4 separate regions of the Homo sapiens genome follow, and regions 2, 3 and 4 are each linked to region 1. Evidence: promoter capture Hi-C in human tissues and cell types (Jung and others, 2019). All regions are on one chromosome and are shown on one strand. The core of a region is centred on a gene start or on the middle of the fragment in contact, and the rest is flanking DNA. Distances in the headings are between cores, read along the strand shown.

Evidence for each region. Contacts are between HindIII fragments. The study calls those that stand out against the background at their distance.
Region 2: a contact is called between a fragment that was not itself captured here and the fragment with the promoter of TEAD1 in region 1, in 3 of the 25 tissues and cell types used here (heart left ventricle, pancreas and psoas muscle).
Region 3: a fragment that was not itself captured here is called in contact with the fragment with the promoter of TEAD1 in region 1 in 2 of the 25 tissues and cell types used here (bladder and heart right ventricle).
Region 4: a contact is called between a fragment that was not itself captured here and the fragment with the promoter of TEAD1 in region 1, in 2 of the 25 tissues and cell types used here (heart left ventricle and liver).

The regions. Positions count from the first base shown.
Region 1 is chr11:12,672,563-12,676,014 of GRCh38, reverse strand. It overlaps TEAD1 (TEA domain transcription factor 1), which reads right to left and starts at 1,594. Exons shown (of 13, transcript NM_021961.6): 1 at 1,181-1,594; 2 at 454-606. RefSeq lists an enhancer at 1-767 and a silencer at 1,603-1,902. The HindIII fragment of the contact is 23,361 bases long and covers 1-3,452 here.
Region 2 is chr11:12,553,496-12,556,947 of GRCh38, reverse strand. No RefSeq gene overlaps it. Among named protein-coding and RNA genes, the nearest start is that of TEAD1, 120 kb to the left of the region's middle. RefSeq lists a silencer at 1-146. The HindIII fragment of the contact is 4,953 bases long and covers 1-3,452 here.
Region 3 is chr11:12,570,338-12,573,789 of GRCh38, reverse strand. No RefSeq gene overlaps it. Among named protein-coding and RNA genes, the nearest start is that of TEAD1, 100 kb to the left of the region's middle. The HindIII fragment of the contact is 8,781 bases long and covers 1-3,452 here.
Region 4 is chr11:12,602,606-12,606,057 of GRCh38, reverse strand. No RefSeq gene overlaps it. Among named protein-coding and RNA genes, the nearest start is that of TEAD1, 70 kb to the left of the region's middle. The HindIII fragment of the contact is 6,520 bases long and covers 1-3,452 here.

The DNA of each region.
Region 1 (3,452 bases), core at 345-2,844:
AGGTCAATTTTCATTTCTGCAAATCACAGGAAGCCACTTGCTTCTAAGAAGTTAACAAGCCTCCTGAGAAACGCTGGTGGCTGGTATTTCATTGTTTCATAAATATTTTTATATAGTGACACTATCCAACTTTAAATAAATCTTTTAAAAAAGGCAATTTAAAAGCAAAGAAAATTCTGATCTGGATTTCATTTATTTTCATGAGAGGGGAGGTGTGAGTCCTCATTGTTTTCGACTCATTAAAAATATTGCTTTGATTTTTTAAAAATACAAAAGTTATTTTTTTAAAAAGAAGAAAAGTCACAGAAGTTAAACTTTCTTTAAAGCGGGACTCTGGACTTTTGAAAACAAGTGTTGCTGTTACGAACAAAGACTAGAAGTGTACCCAGATTTTCTCCCCCCCGGGGATCATTTCTCTTCCAATCAACAAACAAATCCCCCAGTATTTCCTACCGAAAGGGAAGGGAAGTTTTCCAGGGAGAGTCTCCTCCTGGGTTTGGTGGTAACTGCGACTCAGTCTTTTTTGGACACAATGTTTCTGCTGACTCCTGAAAATTTTCCACTTGAATGTGCAATGAAGCGGCGGCGGCAGCGGCAGCAACAGTCCTGGAGAAGCGGCAAAGACGACCGTGCCCTTTTTCATCTTTGAGAAGAAGGAGCGAACCCCCCGCCAGCGGCACAAGTCTGCGCAGACCCGGGCCGGCCTCGGGGGTACCCGGCGCCGGGGGGCGGCGGCGAAAGCAGGGGGGTGCAGGCCGGCTCCGGGCTCCGAGGCGGCGGCTCTGCCCGCCCGCGCTCGCTCCGAACTTCTGGCTCCCCAGCGCACCCCGTCCAAGGCGCCCGAGGGTGTGTGCGTGTGTGCGCGTGCAGGCGGCGGGAGAGGGGGCGCGCGGGGGGCGCGGCGCGGCCGGCCGGGGGCCGCCTGTTGCCGCGCGGGCTCCCAGCGCGCGGCCCAACTTGGCGTCCTGGCAAGTCGCGCGGCGGCGCCCGGCCGCTCACCTCGGAGGGGGCGCGGGGAGGCGGGTGTGGGGGCCCGGCCGCGGCCCTCCGCGTGCCCGCCCGCCGTCGCACACAAAGCAGAGCCCGCAAAGAAAGAGCGGCCCGCGAGGGACGCGCCGCCGGCCCCCCGCTGCCCCGTGCGCCCCCCGCACCCCAGCATCCGCCCCGCGCGCCAACTTACCTCGGCCCAGGGAGCCACCGCAGCGCCCGGCGAGTCCGAGGCAAACTTCGGCGCCGCTTCCCCCGCCCTCTGCTCGGTGCCCGGCTCCCTCCCCGGCTCCCGGTCCCTGGGCCCGGCCACCCCACCCCTGCCTAGCACCGCTCCTGCCCCGGGGCCGGCTGGCGCGCTGGGCTGCTGCCCGCGCTCCGGGCAAAGGTGGAGGGGTGGGGGGGCGTCACTGCATGGCCTGTGCCTGGACGCGGCCGCCCCGGGCCCGGGCCCCGCCGCGCGGAATGGCCCGCAGGGTGGAAGCGAGTCTGCAAAGTGCTTGGTGGGCGCCCGCGGCGGGCGGCGGGGCCGCGGCGGCGGCAGCAGAGGCTCGGCTCGGCTCAGGCGGCGCGGCGCGGCGCGAGCGATGCTAAGAATGTTCGGAATGAGGACAGGAATGAAATGAACGCCAGGACCGAACTCGCTCCGGAGGGGTGGGGCCTCGGTGACGTCATGCGGCCTGCCGCCCGGGGCTGGAGGCGGGGCCTGCCGCCGCCGGTGACGTCATGGGGAATCGGGGCGGACCGGCGCGGCTGCTTCGCCGTTGGGGCGCGGGCTTTCGGCAGCTGGGCGGAGTCTCGCGCCCACGGGGGAGCGTGGCTCGCGCGGGAGCCGCCCTCCGTCTCCCGGCGCGGGCTCCGGGCTTTGTCCCGAGCCGGGGCGGGGCGGGGCGGGGCGGACGGGAGCTGCGCGGCTTGGAAGTCCCTGCGCTCGCGCGAAGAACTCTGGAAGCCTGGGTTTCTTCCAGGGGGCAGGCGCCGAGGCGGGAGTTGCGCGCGACGCGCCTACCGTGCCTCAGTTTCCCTAGTCCGGGACGCGGAAGCGCGGGTGACTGCGTTGAGTGCTCCCGGACTCGCGGAAGTCTGCAAGTGTAGGGTAGAGAAGTTGCCTTTCTGGTGATGCAGATTGTTGCTCTCGAGCGCGGTGGACGCCGTCTCCGGGCCAGATTCCCAGCCTGCCATTTCTTCTCTTCCCTTTCACTTTTATAAAAGTTCACAGCTCTCACTCAAGTCGAAATCTGTCTTACGGTTGGGAAAGGAAAACCTTTAGCTTAGCAAAGAAGGATAATTACAGAGTTCGTAATAAACCTGCCCTGCTAGCAAGGTCTTCTCCAAGTCAGTTAAAAAACTAAGTTCACTCATCTCTGCCGGTTGTACTTTTCAAAAGTAACTTCCTAAACTTTGAAATGCTGCATCCGGCGACTTTAAGTTAGCCCTTTCATTATTGAGAAACTTCATTTCATTATTAAAGGAATCATTTTAACCCTGCCATTGGAGGTAGTGACGCAAAAGTGACATAGACGCAGTCGGTAAATCAGAAAACGGGTAAAATCGACCCACTGGGGACAGAACCGTCTAAAGTTTCGGGTGATTGTTATAATTATTTAACAAACTGCAAAGCAGTTCCCGCACAGTGGACCTCATTCGTTCTAGGCACTTGGCTCTCTTTTCCAGCTGAGGCCTCAGGATTAAATAACAACATATTTTGTGCCCGAGGAATCCCTATATCCCTATATATGGGTAACTGAGGAGACTAGACTGTGACTGAGTGCAACACATTTCTACAAAACATAACTTTTACTAATACATTGTTTTCCTTTTTTTTAATTTTTTTTTTATTTTATTTTTGGAGACAGGATCTTGCTCTGTCACCTAGGCTAGAATGCAATGGTGCGATCTGGGCTCGCTGCAGCCTCGACTCCCTGGAATCAAGCCATCCTCCCTTTTCAGCCTCCCGAATAGCTGGAACTACAGGCACGCACCACCACGCCTAGCTAATTTCTAAAATTTTTTTGTAGAGATGCAGTTTCACCATGCTGCCCAGGCTGGTCTCAGACGCCCGGGCTCAAGCTGTCCTCCTGCCTCGGCTTCCTGAAGTGCTGGAATTACAAAAGTGAGCCACTGCACCCAGTCTTATTAATACATTTTTAATTTCAACTCTTGAAGTAATCGGAGTAACAGGCAGTTGTAAAAAATAATAATAAATCGTTTGTTCACTTTGCCCAGTTCTCCCCACTGGTAATGTCTTCCAAAACTCTAATACAGTATCACAATTGGGATATTGACATTGATACGATCCACCCATCTTATTCAGATTTCCTCAGTCTTACTTGTACGTATTCGTACGTGCCTGTGTTTAGGTCTATGCAATTTCCTGACTTGTGTAGGTACCACCACAGTCAAGTACAAGTGCATTTTATTTCTAATTCATAGGCAATGATAAGGTAATACAGTGAGGTTCACAA
Region 2 (3,452 bases), core at 587-3,086, 120 kb after region 1:
ATGTGCATTCCATTCATCTCCTTGGCTGGGAGGCAGCAGGGAAGCAAATTGGCTGGTTGCTTAACTGTTTGGGTCCCAAATTCACCCTGAAAGGAATCACCAAGGTTGTTGGACTTTTCCAATAATCATGAAGAAAAAACAGAAGATAAAACAAAAGAGATATTTATTTATTCATATGATCCCATCTGGAAAACAGCTATTTTCAAGTGTAGCTTAATGAAAATCACATCCTTTGGTTTGTTTGAAATCATCTTCCACCAGAAAGGCATTTTGAAGCAATGAGGCTTTGTGAGGTGTGATTCAAAACAATGTGAGTAGTTTTTTTTAAGCAATCACACCAAACTGTAGCTACTCAAATTCAGGTTGTTGCCTTCCAAGTAATCTCAGTGGGCTGTGACCCTGCAATTCCAAGATGCTCCAACCTGTGTAAAATTCCTTTAAGGAAATTACTACACTCTTGCTCTGTTTTGCTTTTTGTTTATCATTCAGTCAGCACATATGGGACACCTCCTGTGTGCCAAGCACTCTGTAAAGCTCTGGGGATAGAGTAATGGGGGAGGCACAGTCTTATTGAATGTTTGACCATGCGAAGCCCCCAGGGGCCAGTGGAAAAAGTTAGTCTGACCTGGATTTGAATCCTGGTTTAGCCTCGTGCAGATTGTGTAATCTCAGGCAACTTTCCTAAACTCTTTGAGTCACAGTGCCCCATTTCTAAAAGGAAGACGGTAAAATCTACTTGATGGGATGTCTTTGAGGAGAAAATCAGAGGAAAATATGTAGTAAGCAGCCTTAGCACAGAAGCTGATATAGAGTAATTGCTCAGAAAATGAGAGCACTTATGATTTTAATTGTTTGAATTACATAGCTAGTTCAACTGTCTTTTTTTTGGACTAGATAGACTCTTACTCTTCGAAAAATTAATCATCCTGTGCATGAGAAATATGCACAAGGTACCAAATTCAAAGTATACAAAAATTAGATGATGACAAGAATATCTTCTCCCTGTCCTTACTCCTTGCCATTAGTTCTCCTCACTAGAAAGAATACAAGCAAGTTCTTGTATATTTCCAGATTTAACTGTATTTCTCAGAGATCGGTCCATAGCAACACTTAGTGCTCATTCTTTTTTTTCTTTTTTCAGCGAATTGAGGTATAATTGACAAATAATGTTGTATATATTTAAAGGGAACAATGTGATGATTTGACATACGTATATATTGTAAAATGATTACCAGAATCAAGTTAGTTAATGCATCATCATCTCACATAGTTACCATTTGTGCGTATGTGGTAAGAACACTTATGGACTACTCTACTTGCAAATTTCAAGTGTACAATACAATAGTATAAACTGTAGTCACCATGTTGTATGTTACACCTCCACAATGTATTCGTCTTATAACTGAAAGTTTGTACTCTTTGACCAACATCTCCCCATTTCCCCCACCCCCCCAGCCTTTGGCAACCATCCTTCTACTCTGTTTGTATGAGTTTGACCTTTTCAGATTTCACATATAAGTGGAATCATACAATATTTGCCTTTCTGTTTCTGGCTTATTTCACTTAACATAATGCCCTCCAGGTTAATCCACACTGTCAGGAATGGCAGAATTTTTTTCTTCTTTATGGCCGGATAATATTTCATTGTCTATATATACCACTTTTTCTTTATCCATTTGTTTCCATGTCTTGGCAATTTGAATAATGCTGCAACGAACATAGGAGTGCAGAGAGACACTGATCTAACTTCGTTCAGATATATACCCAGAAGTGGAATTGCTGGATCACATGGTAGTTCTAGTTTTAGTTTTTTGAGGAACCTCCATATTGTTTTCCATAATGGCTGTACTAATTTACATTCCCTCCCACTGTATACAAGGATTCCTCTTCCTCCACATCCTCAACAACACTTACTTCATCTTTTTGATAATAGCCATCCTAACAGGTGTGAGGTGACATCTCACTGTAGTTTTGACTTGCATGTCCCTGATGATTAGTGATACTGAGTACTTTTTCATGTACCTGTTAGCCATTTGTATGTCTCCTTTGGAAAAGTATCAATTCAAGTTCTTTGTAACACTTTTTAGAAGAGATTATTTGGGATTTCTTTGCTATTGAGTTGCATGAATATCTTGTATATTTTAGGTATTTACCCCTTATCAGATATATGACTTGAAAATATTTTTTGCTCATTCCATAGGTTGCCTTTTCATTTTGTTGTTTCCTTTGCTGTGCAGAAATTTTTTTGTTTGATGTAGTCCCACTTATTTGTTTTTGCTTTTGTTGCCTTTACTTTTGGTGTCATACGTAAAAATATCGTTACTAAGGCCAGTGTCAAGAAGCTTTTTCTCTGTTCTTTTTTATTTTTTCTAGGAGTTTTATGATTTCAGGTCTTATATTTAAGTCTTTAATCCATTTTGAGTTAATTTTTGTGCTGGTGTAAGATAAAGATTCTATTTCTTTCTCTTTTTTTGCATATCAATATCTAGCTTTCCTAACTTTATTTATGGAGGAGACTTTCCTTTCCCTATTTTGTAATCTTGGTGCCCTCATCAAATAATAGTTGACCATATATGCATGCGTTTCTAGTCTCTCTATTCTGTTCCATTAGTCTGTGTCTGCTTTTATGCCAGAACCACACTGTTTTGATTACTATAGCTTTGTTATACAGTTTAAAATCAGGAAGTATGATGCTTCTGATTTTATTCTTCTTTCTTAAGATTACTTTGGTTATTTGGGGTCTTTTGTGGTTCTATGTGAGTATTGTTTTTTTTTTTCTATTTCTGTAAACAACACCATTGGAATTTTGATAAGGACTGCTTTGAATCTATAAATCACTTTGGGTAGTTGATCATTCTTAACTGCCTCATACTTTTTAAATGATTATGTGGTAGTCCATTGACTGAATGTGTCATAATTGATTTAGCCACTTCCCTATCAATAAACATTTAAGTTTTTTCTAATCTTTCACCATGACAACAATAAAGCAAAGCCCATTCTTGTGCTTAGCTTTGACTACTTCTAGTCAAAGAATGGCAAACTAAAGAAATACAACAGGCTTCTTAAGGCAGCTCCTGGCAATGTCACTGGAATTGGGTGACTGCTTGAAGCAGAAAATGCTGATCTGATTGGATACATTCTGAATGTTTTCTCAAAAAACATCTCATTATTCTATTCCTGGAATATTGATACCACCCTCAAATGCTACTTATTTGAAAAGTGAGCCAGGCACAGTGGCTCATTCCTATGATCCCAGCACTTTGAGAGTCGAAGGCAGGAGGATCACTTGAGGTCAGGAGTTCAAGACCAGCTTGGGTACATACTGAGACCCTGTCTCTACCAAAAAAAAAAAAAAAAAAGAAAGAAAAAAAGAAAAAAATGCAGAATCTATGTAATAATAATACAGAATGGTGACATTTTAGTCCAGACAGAACTGCCATGAAACCCCTCCA
Region 3 (3,452 bases), core at 254-2,753, 100 kb after region 1:
GCAACAGGCTGTCTTCCTATGGGTACCCTCTGCAGATTCTCCTTTTCTGTGATACTCTCTCTTCTCTGGTACTCTGTCCTGCAAATGCTAGCCACCTTGGCTTCTCTAGACTCTCAGCTACATCTTCTCAACTCGTCATCCTTTTGTTGAATTGATCCCTTCATCATCATCATCATCATAATTATTCTTATTACATAGCTCTCTTTATCCATGGCAAATTTCTTTGTCCTAAATCTTGATATCACTAATGAGATGATATCTTTTTAAGTACTTTACTCAATGCCCTTGAATTATGAGGGTTTCCATGCTGGCTGGTAAGAATATAAACTATTCTTGGCTCTGTGTGAGCTTTGGAGATTTTTCCTTCTACTCTTTTTGGTTGATTCTTTCCTCGTCCTTGGGTAGTTTCCTCACATGCATTCTCTGATCTGTCCTCAGCTGAAGACTCAAGGCTTTGAAGATTCTGGAGTTCTCTCCTGATGTGCCCCTCTCTTCTCTGGTGCTCTGTCCTGTCAGGTCTAGCCACTTTAGCCTCCCTATCTTCCAGCTGTTTCTCCTCAGCTCAAGGAGACTGCTAGCCTCTGCCTGGAATCTCTCTTCTCATGCAGCGACTTGGAAACTCCCTCTAGGCAGTAAGCTAAAATGTCCTGTGTTTTCCCTCTCTGAGATGTCATTGTCCAGAACTGCCTGATGTTCAACATCTGAAAATAATTGTTTCATATGTTTTGTCCTTTTCTCAATTGCTTCAGATGGGAGGGAGTATCCAATCTCTATTACTCCATATTGACCAAATGTAGAAGTCCTTATTTTTTTAATTTCTTTTTATTTTTGGCTATAGTCACTCTGTTGTGTTATCAAATACTAGATTGTATTTTTTCTGTCTAACTGTATTTTTGTACCCATTAACCATACTCACTTCCGCCTCCCACCATCACCATTCCAAGCCTCTGATAACTATCATTCTACTCTATATTTCTGAGTTCAATTGTTTTAATTTTTAGCTTCCACGAATGAGTGAGAACATGCAAAGTTGTTTTCTTCTGTGCCTGGCTTATTTCACTTAACATGATATCATCCAGTTCCATCCACATTGTTACAAACGACAAGATTTCATTCTTTTTTTATGGCTGAAGAGCACTCCATTGTGTATATGTATCATGTTCTCTTTATCCCTTAGTCTGCTGATGGACACTTAGGTTGATTCCAGATCTTGGTTATTGTGAATAGTGCTGCAATAAATATGGGAGTGCAAATATCTCTTCACAATTCTGATTTCCTTTATTTTGGGTATATACCTAGCAGTGGGATTGCTAGATTATATGGTAGTTATGTTTTTAGTTTTTTGAAGAACCTCCATATTGTTGTCCATAGTGGTTGTAGTAACTTACGTTCCCACCAACTGTGTACAAGGATTCCCTTTCCTCCACATCCTCGCCATCATTCCTTATTGCCTGTCTTTTGGATAAAAGCCATTTTTATTGGGGTGAGATAATATCTCATTGTAGTTTTAATTTGCATTTCTCTGATGATCAATAATGGTAGTCACCTTTTCATATAGCTGTTTGCCATTCATATGTATCCTTTTGAGAAAAGTCTATTCAGACCTTTTGCCAATTTTTAAATCAGATTATTAGATTTTTTTCCTATGAGTTGTTTGAGCTCCTTATATATTCTGGTTATTAATCCTGTGTCAGATGGATAGTTTGCAAATGTTTTCTCCCATTCTGTGGGTTGTCTCTTCACTTTGTTGATGGTTTCTTTGCTGTGTGGAAGCCTTCTAACTTGATGTGATCTCATTTGTGCATTTTTGCTTTAGTTGCCTGTGCTTGAGGCACAGAAACTTTGGTTGCCTACGCTTGTGACACAAGAAACTTTGGCCCAGATCAATGTCCTGAAAAGTTTCTCCAATGTTTTCTTTCAGTAGTTTCTTAGTTTGAGGTCTTAGATTTAAGTCTTTAATTCATTTTGATTTGATTCTTGTATATGGCAAGAGATAGGGATCTAGCTTCATTCTTCTGAGTATGGATATCCAGTTTTCCCAGCAGCATTTATGTGTCCTTTCTCCAATGTGTGTTCTTGACACCTTTGTTAAAAATGAGTTCACTGTAGATGTATGGATTTATTTCTGGGTTCTCTATAAAAGTCCTCACCTTTAATAACTTTAAAAGTACTTTTAAAGTACTTATTTTATGGATGCAGACTATATCTACGATTCCTGTTGATTACATTTTTTTTCCTGTCAGAATCCTATGTAGCCTGTGTTGATGGAATATTCCTCAAGGGTAGTTTTGTGTTTCCTTCTACCAGATTATGTTAATTTCTCAACTTTGCAGAATTTCCACAGATGAAAATCCACTGAAAACGAGCTAACAAACATATCTGAAATAATTGTTTTTAGACATCAGATATCTTTGGTATCCTCAGATCACATGGAGAATGTAAATTCAAAGTTGAAACAAATGTATGATGTTGGTCCACATTTTTAAGTTGTTGAGAGTTCCTTTTTTCAATATGGAGCCCAAGCAAAGACTGACAAACTTTCCCATAATCCTTGTGATATGGTTTGGCTCTGTGTCCCCACCCAAATCTCATCTCAAATTGTGATCCCCATGTGTCGAGGAAGGGACCTGGTGGGAGGTGATTGGATTCCGAGGGTGGTTCCTCTATGTAATTCTCATGATAGTGAGTGAGTTCTCACAAGATCTGATGGTTTAAAAGTGAGGCAGTTCCCCCTTCGTGCTCTCTCTCTCTTGCCACTATGTAAGACGTGCCTTGCTTCCCCTTCACCTTCTGCCATGATTTTAAGTTTGCTGAGGCTTCTCCAGCCATGTGGAACTGGGAGTCAATTAATCCTTTTTTTTTTTTAAATATATTACCCAGTCACGGGTAGTTCTTTATAGCAGTGTGAAAATGAACTAATATAGCTTGCATGCTGATGGATAGTTTTTTCTTCCCTGGAAGATGTCAAGCTTTGGGTAGATATCTCAGTTCCAGCTCCCAGTATCACATGGGACTTTTCTGTCTCACATGGGTGTAGAACCCAAATCCTTACATTATTGAAACAAGCATTTCTTCCCTATTCTCTAGGAATTTCAGAGTTAGTTCCCATATTTATTCTGATTTTCGGATTCCTCTTCATTCATAGGATGTGAAGATTTCTCTCTATTTCTGATAGTATTAGTTATTAATTTTAAAGGATGCACATATATAAAACTACATATGTATGTTTTTATACATAAAAATTATAAAGATATCTGAAAGATTATATATATTTATATAAATAAAATATTTCAGATAAACTACATATTTTCTCTGATTACTAGTTAGTGGCAACTTACTGAAGCTTCCAGCCCTCAATAATTTGAATTCAAAAATTAAGTACCTGGCCATGCAGAGTGGCTCATGACTGTAATCTCAACACTTTGGGAGGCCAAGGTGGGAGAATTGCTTGA
Region 4 (3,452 bases), core at 669-3,168, 70 kb after region 1:
GTGTTTTAAACAACACATTCAATTTATGTAATAGATATAGGACTATTCATGTTATCTGTTTCTTCTTGAGTGAGCTATGATAGTTCACAATTTTCAGGAATTTATTTTATCTATGTTATCAAGCATATTGGCATAAAGTTGATCATAGTATTCCTTTATTATCCTGTTATGTCTGTAGAATCTGTGGTGATGTCCATATCTTCCCTGCCTCTGCATTCTTATTGTTGGTAATGTGTATCTTTAAAATTTTTTTTTCTTCATCAGTCTGGCTGGAGATTTATCAATTATATTGATCTTTTCAACTAACTAGCTTTAGATTTCATTACTTTTTTCTCCTTTTTTTGTTTTCAATTCTATTGATTTATATTATTTTGCTATAAGGAATTCTGTTTCTTGAACTCTTAACCTCAAGCAATCCTTTTGCCTCAGCCTCCCAAATTGCTGGGATTACAGGTGCAAGCCACTGCACCCAGCCTAAGAATTTTGTTTCTATTTCTATGAACATTTAATGTCCTTTGGCACTTTAAACAAGTCATCCCATTGATTTCTTGCTTTTAGAGCTTCTGTTGAGAAGTTAGCTGTGATTGTTGTGGGGCTTTTTTGTACGGATAATATATTCTCTTTCTCTACCCTGCTTTCAAATTGTTCTTTTTCATTTTTGAAGCAAATGCTTCAAAGGAAAAATCCATGCCCAATTATGAGATTCCCATCTCTGGGCTCACATCCCTTCATCTCCTGGCCAAGTTGGGAGCTCTTCTTTGTCTCCCAAAAGACATTTAAACCCACTTTTTCTAGTTGTTTATGGCAAAGTATTGTTCTGATATAAGATAGTTTCTCATAAATGGCAGAAGTCCTTTTATGAGTTTTAAAAGTACCTATTTTTAGGTCTTTACTGAAACTGTACATCTTATCTTTTATCATATTGACACAAATTATGTTAAAGACTGTTTAATTATGCAATCTTTGGATCTCTGTGAGTTTGTGTCTATTGTCTGTTATTTCTGCTGGGTGTCTTTTCTGTTGCCTTGCCTTACGGTATGCCAAGTTATTTTAAGATTGTGTGCCAGATCTTATATGTGAAAATTATTTTAGAAATCATGTGAGGACTTGGAAGTTATGTTCCTCCTCTGGAAAGGATTTTACTTTGCTTCTGTGAAGTTTCTGGATCCACTACCAGTTTGGGATAAACTTAATGTAATTTCAGCAAGTGAGATAATTTAAAACATGGCTGCATTTCCTACAAGTGAGTCACCTTCTGATTTGCCTTTACTTCTAAGTTATAGCCCTTTAGGATCCTAACCCAAACATAGCAAGTTTATCACCTTCTATTCCTTGGCAGGCCTTGGATATCTCCTGTTGGTCCCCAGGCCTGCAAGCTTATCAAAGGCTGCTAAACAACTCAGATACTTTTTCTAGAATTGATAAGTGTCTCTAAAAGAAGCTCCTAATTCCATGTTAGCTCTGTCATCTTATGCATCTTGGTCCACCAGTTCTTCACTATCTTTTGGGCCCTTCAGTACTCTAGGCAGTTTTAAACTTTTTTAAAATGCAGTTTTTATAGATGTTTCCAATAGAAGAATGGTTCTCTTATCTAGTCCCACATTAATAACCTCATTTGCCATTTCCTTGAGTGTATTATAATTTTATTTTTTCCCTGAGATGGAGTCTCGCTCTGTCGCCAGGCTGGAGTGCAGTGGCACGATCTCGGCTCACTGCAGACTTTGCCTCCTGGGTTCAAGCAGTTCTCCTGCCTCAGCCTCCTGAGTAGCTGGGACTACAGGCGCAAGCCACCACGCCTGGCTAATTTTTTTATTTTTAGTAGAGACGGGGTTTCATCATGTTGGCCAGGATAGTCTCGATCTCTTGACCTCATGATCCGCCTGCCTCAGCCTCCCAAAGTGCTGGGATTGCAGGTGTGAGCCAGTGCACCTGGCCATAATTTTTAAAATTCAGGAAATTAATTTTTTCTAATTTGTCCATGTCTCTCTCTCTCTTCTCCCCCTTTTTTCCTCTGGTTTTTAAATTTTATTTGTCTGTTATGGTAAAAGGCTTTCCTCAAATGTATGGTAAGCCTTGTGTGTGTGTGTGTCTTTTTAATGTTTTAAAAACAGGGACTACATGCTGATTGGAGAGGTGTGTGTGTGAGAGAGAGAGATCAAGCGGGGTGGGGGAGGGGAGAAAAGATGTTAGTGGACTTCACTGATCAGGGCTAACCTTGCTGTTTCCTTAGGCTGGAGGGGTCATCAAAATGTCAGTATATGTGTGTCTTTTCTCTTGAGCAGGGTTATACTCCTAGCTGCCAACGTCCTGGGAAGTCTCACTGTTCAGTTTTATGACTTTTATTTCTTCAATGTTTAGACCAATGCTTTACCACTTCCTTGAGTTGTTCCCTGAGTTCAAATCATCTCCACCTGGTAATAGAATATGACTACCTCAATTTCCTGTGTTCATCTCAGGCCCAATCAGCTGTGATCAGGGGACTTGGTCACATGTTATAGAGTTGCCACTTTGGCACTGAGGTGAATGTATTTTCCCAAGAGGATTTGAATGGGAGGAAATTATGGGCGTATTCTTCATAAGGCACATTCTTATATCTTGTTTTACTTGAAGCACTTCTGAAAGTTCTGAAATCCTTATATTTTCAAGGAAATCACTCCTCTTGATTTGGGAGAGTGGAAAAATAATCAAGCTATTTTGAGTAGTCAGCTTCCTCTTGTCAGGGACTTAAAAATTTTCATAAGGCCCACTTGGGACACATTCCAGATGATGGGATGTCCATTTCTGCTCAGAGATGGTTAGTACCTTGGCTATTTCAAAACAACATTATCTATGGGATGTGCAGAGGACATAAAATCTGATTAGAAACTTTCTTCATTCTTTAGATAGAGTCTGTTAGTTCTAAATTTACAGGAGGGAAATTTGGGGATAGCCAAGGTCCTACTCTCACCTCATATTCCCCATTGCCAACTGGTGTAGTTAAAAGAGAAAGAATAAACTTTATATTCAGACAGACTTCCTTTTGCGCCAGAGCCACTTACTAGCTGTGTGACTTAGGGCATGTTCTTCAAACTTGGAGGTTCAATCTCCCCCTCTATTTAAAATGGCAATAATGAAGCTTGTTCTGTTCATACTCAATGAAAATAGTAATGCTTATGTGTTAAACACATGTTAAATGTGCTAGTTTTTCTCATGCGCTTATGTCTCACATAATTCAAATTACTCAAAGTCCTATTGCAAACATTTTACCCTATTGGGAAAGCCAGGTTGATTCCTCACTTGTTTTGCTGAGGACATTGCTGGGGCAGGACATAGTGTGTAGGGAGCTTAGATCAATGACTGGTTGGCGTATCATTCATTTAACAGCCGAAATGGGTGGGACTGAGGAAATGACTAGAGAGGTAGCGTCTTGGAGAAAAGGCAAATTAAGAGCTAGCCAGTCAATTTGTCAAGTG